2 separate regions of the Homo sapiens genome follow, and region 1 is linked to region 2. Evidence: promoter capture Hi-C in human tissues and cell types (Jung and others, 2019). All regions are on one chromosome and are shown on one strand. The core of a region is centred on a gene start or on the middle of the fragment in contact, and the rest is flanking DNA. Distances in the headings are between cores, read along the strand shown. Region 1 overlaps PRKCB (protein kinase C beta). Region 2 holds the start of TNRC6A (trinucleotide repeat containing adaptor 6A).

Region 1 (2,700 bases), core at 83-2,582, 870 kb after region 2:
GGATATGGCACAGGCACCTCATCCTCAACATACCCAACGCATAATTCTCTATCTTCTCCCCCAAGCTTTCTCTTCTTCTTGTATTCTCTGCTGCTATTCATGATATTTCTATGTATCAAGCACCCAAACCCGGACTCCCTCAATAGGTGACAACATTTATAGTACTTTTTTTTGGTACTAAGTGCCAGGGTGCCACTGCATCTTACACAAGCACTAACATATTTGATCCTGACAACTCTTATTAGGTAGGTCCTATTATCATTCACCCCTTTTTCAAAATGAAGAAGCTAAGGATAAGAAATTTGCCTGGGGTCATGAGATTTGAATGCAGGTCTGTCTAATTCCTCTTTTTTTCTGCTTCACAAAGAAAATAGAAACCACCAAGCAAGATTTCTCAACTGGCCTCAAAACTTCATTTATTTCCCACCCATTTTCCCATCACTTCTCATTTTCACCTGTGCTCTCCCCTCCATGGGTCCTTCCCTTCCTTGACAACTCTCTCGCTCTCTCTCTTTCTCTCTCTCTCTTTCTCTCTCTCTCTCTCCTAATGCTGTCAACCTCACCCCCTTGAGAAGTGCCATGCTCCCTTTGGGAACCTGGAGGTCTTTCTCTCCTGCTTTTAAAGTTTCCTGCCTTTTCTCTGCCTCCTCCAAATTTTCTATTCTTCAAGCTAAACATCCCCGGGTACTTCAACTACTTCTTCCTGCCAAGTGTCTTCTCTCTCTTGCTTCTCCCCGCACCTCACTGACATTCTTCCTCTCTCTTTCACTGCTTCCTCTGCCTCAAAACCCAACTGAGAACTCAGGCTCCTCTGTGCAGCCTCCCCAGGACCCTGGGAGGTGAGCTGCTCCTGGCATTTCTCCCCCCTCTCCACCATTACAGCACACATCACACTGAGTTATCAATGTGTGATTTATGAGTCTGGCCTACAAGTTTAGGGGCTGCTTGAGGACAGAAAGCAGCTTCCCCCTGCCCATCACAGGGCGGCTGACTATGCCAGCCAGACCACGCTGTGCTATCACTCCTTTTACACTACTCTCTTCTGAGTGGACTTTGGAAAAGATACAAAGGAGGGATCTCACACTTTCCAAATCAGACCCCACAACTTGATATGCCACCTTCTGTGCCCTGGCCAAAGACTGACCAGGGATACTGGTGGAGTAGCTGAACCTGGACCTTCAAGCCTAGGAGTCAGACCACCTGGGTTTGTTGCCCTCTTCAACTACTTAGCTTAGAGACCAGTGGCAAGTTAATTAATGTCTCCTGGGATTTGTTTGTTTAGAGAGAGGGTCTCACTCTGTCACCCAGACTGGAGTGCAGTGGTGCCATCAAAGCTCACTACAGCCTCAACCCTCACAAGCTCAAGGGATCCTCCCACCTCAGCCTCCTAAGTAGCTGTGAATATAAGCACGAGCCACCACACCTAGCTCATTTTTTTTTATTCTTTGCAGAGATGGGGTTTCACTATGTTTCCCAGGCTGGAAGCTATTTAATATCTCTAAGCCTCAGTCACTTCATGAAGTTAATAATGAGATCAACCTCCTAGGGTGCTGTGGACATTCAATGAGATCATGTGTGTGAAGCATCCAGCTCAGTGCCTCAATAAATTAGTGCAGCTCTTCAGGGAAGTATTATTCCATGAAAGTGCCTGCTGTATGTAACCCTCTTCCTTCCAAGTGACTCAACAGCTTGCATAGTTCTCAGCCTGTCCTCCCAGCCTGGTAACTTAGGCATGAAGAAATCAGCCTACTGTGATCACGTGGCCAATGAAAGTCCTCAAACTAGAAGCCACTTTCTGAATTCCTTATTCAAGGCTATGGCTAAAAAAATCTACACATGTGCAAACTCCCCCACTGGGAAAAAAAAAAAACAGTTTGATGGAAGTATTCCTCCCACTAGAGAATTTCCCCTTCCTGTCAAATGTTGCCAGTTTCATTCATTGCTGTGGCAGGCACACTTTCCTGGCCATGAGAGATGGGCCTTATCACCATCCCGTATACCAGATCCTTCCTGGTTGCCATTCTGCCACACTCTTACGGGGCCTTCCTCACCATGGTGCTCCTCTGTGACCCCCGGAGCCCTTCACCTTGGTGAACAGACAGTCTGACTCGAATGGACCTGAATTCAATCTACGCTCTGCAGTTACTTAAGCAAATGTTTTATCTTCTCTAAGCTTGCTTTCTTATCTACAAAAGGGATAAGAATAGCAGCAAATCTTAGTGGAAGGTAAAGATTCAAAGGGATAAAGTTTGTGAAAATGCCCAGCTCATTGCAGACACTGAAATATTAGCTGCCTTCATCATCATCATCATCATCCTCATCATCAACGTCATTGTCACCATCAATTCTGAAGTTACACAATCCTAAAACCAAGTCTATTTTTGAATCCTAACTGTAACTTTGGAAAAATTTCTCAATTCTTTGTGCTGTTTTCTCAGCATAAAATGGCAACAATAACAGTAGCAGCCACACAGGGCTGTTGTGAGGATTAAATAAGTTAATACATGTAAAGTACTTAGAACAGTGCCAGTCACCGAGTGAGTACTCAATAAATGTCAGCTCAAGTTAATGGCATTTGAAATCTTTGAAGACATCCAGGAAATGGAAAATTCCCTTGGCCTCTCTGTCCAATGAATAGAGATCCTTCTAGGGACTGCAGACGCACGTGCGCACACACCCACACACACACACACACTCTCT
Region 2 (2,700 bases), core at 127-2,626:
AGCTAAATATTTCCATTCCATAAAGACATCGTTTAAAAAAAAAAAAAAATTCTCCCTTCACGGTGATGCAAAAGCAGCAGGGCCCAACAGGAACGATAACCTCTTCTGGAGAAAAGATTTTTAATTATTTTACCAGCTGATAAAAAGAGCACACACCGAACATGGACAGAAATGGAGTTTCGAAGGAAAACAAAACGCAGCTTATGCTTGGTAAAGTTCAAGGACAAAACTGTGTCCAATGCAACAGAATCCGCCTGACTACAATGTATGGGGGGGGGGGGGGGGCGGGGGGGAATGCGAACACATAGTATCTTTTTATAAAAGCAACAATTTGAGCTACAAAGTAATAACGGGGAAGCCAAAACAGTTTGACAGCCCGCCATAAGGGCCGCCTCAATCATGAGTCACACAATGCCTGCAACCATTTACAATAGTAATTAATGCACAAGTCCCCTAATTAAATTCTAAAAGGGTGAGAATGCTTTAACTAAGTTTACAAGAATTGCTTTGCGCTTTTTTTTTTTTTTTTTAAAGAAAGAAACACACGCGTAATTACGCATCTCCCCGCAATCCCTCCAGTATTCCCCCAGGCCGCTTCTCCCGAATGTCTGCTCTCCGGGTGCGGAAGAAAATGTCACGGGGGAACTTCTCAACCCAGAAAAGGCGAATCGGAGTAGAAATATACGATTATCGTGGGGCGGGAGACGGAAAGCTCGCCCATCTTACCTGCTAAGATTTCTTTCTACGTCTTTGGTAGCTTTAGCTTCCAATTCTCTGAAACAAAAAAACAAAAACAAAAACAAAACAAAAACACACACACAAAAACGAGATGCGCGTGAAAACGGAGCTGCTGCGGCAGAGGCTCGCGCCGGGGCCGGATGGGGGAGGGGAGAGGACGGGGGGAGGGGGACTCACAAAGCTGCGGGGCTGCAGCCCGGACTGCGGTCCCGCGGCGCGGGCGAGGCGCAACCCCGGCCTGGCCCCCGCGGCGCGGCGCAGCGAGGCTCCCCCGGGCCGCCCGCTCGGCCTCCGCAGCAACGCAGCCTGCGCCCTCCCGCCGAGGCCCGAAGTCTCGGGGACGCCCGGCGCCGCCGCCTCTGCTGCCGCCGCCGCGGGTTGCGGGCCCTGCGGCAGCGCCCGCGGCTCCTCCCGCCCGGAGGGAGGCCCTTGTTCCGCTCACCTCATGTGTGTAAAGTGCACGAGCAAGTGGGGCGCGGCGAAGGAGGCTCGCGAGCCTCAAGCCCTCCGCAGCGCCGCGGGGAGAGGCCCGAGCCGCTGCACCAGCGCCATTTTCTACACCGACCCGCTGCCGCCGCCGCCGCCGCCGCCGCCGCCGCCGCCGACACCGCCGCCGCCGCAGGCCCCAGACCGGAAGTGAATGCCCCACTCGGCAACCCCTTCCGGGGGCGCCACGGCCACTGGCCCCCAAGATGGAGGCCCTAGCAACTGGACCCGCAGATTGGGCAGGTCCTTGGCAACCGCCCCGGCGTGTCACGCTGCACCCAGCCGGACCTCCCTGGAGGTCACAGCCTCCGAGGCGCCCCGCGGAGTGGCTGGGGGGGCCTGCGGAGTCCCGAGTCCAACCTTTTTCGGTGCGGCCGGCTCCGGTCTGACCGAGGAGGGGAGTCCCTCCCCTCCTCCTCCTTCTTTGCTGCGACACAAGTTTCCTACCCGCCGCCCGGCCCCTCCCCCACTGACACACGCCAAAAAAAAAAAAAAAAAAAATTGCCTAAAACGCAAATTTTACCCCAACTGCAGCCTGATGAGCCCGCGCGGCTTTTGAATTCAGCCACTTCTAATTATTTTTGACCTTGGGCCAGTTATTTAACCTCTCTGCTTCTCTGTTCCTCCTCAGGTAAAGAATGCATACCTGAGGCGGGTTGTGAGGCTTAAAAGCGATTTTTATCCACCGACCTTTGACTCAGCAGTTCCGCCTGCACGGATTTTCTGCTCAGGAAATAATTCTGGGTATCTGCAAATATTTCACCTTCGAGATACTAAGCTGTGGTATTGATGATGGTGAAAAATTGCAAACAGCCAAAATGTCCAGCGCTACTAGATGGCTTCAAAAACAGCTACTGGCATGTATTAGGACACTGTAAAAATGATGTGGAGGAATAATCCCGGCATGGAGGAAATGGTTGCAATAGAATAAATGAAAAAGCAGGTTCCAACGTAGCTCACACAGTAAGAAACATCTTAGTGTAGACACAGTAAGATACATACATGTAGATAGACTAAGATATGTATATATGTAGACACAGATGCATATGTGTACATTAAAAGTATACATACATACCTACATGTAGATACAATAAGACATACATATCTGCAGGTAGATACAACAATACACATACATGTAGATACAGTAAGATACATATTTTCACTTGCGTGTGTTCTTTCCAACCTCTCATCAAGCTTTTTCTTCTAATTTAAAGATAATTCCTCCTCTGTGCTTAAAATCTATAACCTTTACTTTCTCAGAAACCCCACTCTGTGGATCATCCCATTCTCCTTTTTCTAACCTAAGTTCTTCAACTGGCTTTTTTTTTTATTTTTTTATTATATTATCATTTTTTTTAGGCGGAGTCTCGCTCTGTCTCCCAGGCTGGAGTGCAGTGGCGCGATCTCCGTTCACCGCAACCTCCGCCTCCCGAGTTCAAGCAATTCTCCTGCCTTAGCCTCCCAAGTAGCTGGGAT

The links. Contacts are between HindIII fragments. The study calls those that stand out against the background at their distance.
Region 1: a fragment that was not itself captured here is called in contact with the fragment with the promoter of TNRC6A in region 2 in 1 of the 25 tissues and cell types used here (dorsolateral prefrontal cortex).

The regions. Positions count from the first base shown.
Region 1 is chr16:23,857,713-23,860,412 of GRCh38, reverse strand. The region is part of intron 2 of PRKCB (protein kinase C beta); the gene reads right to left. Among named protein-coding and RNA genes, the nearest start is that of PRKCB, 23 kb to the right of the region's middle. The HindIII fragment of the contact is 4,841 bases long and covers 1-2,700 here.
Region 2 is chr16:24,728,327-24,731,026 of GRCh38, reverse strand. It overlaps TNRC6A (trinucleotide repeat containing adaptor 6A), which reads right to left and starts at 1,376. Exons shown (of 25, transcript NM_014494.4): 1 at 1,181-1,376; 2 at 727-774. The coding sequence starts at 1,185. RefSeq lists a silencer at 1,038-1,347. The HindIII fragment of the contact is 13,221 bases long and covers 1-2,700 here.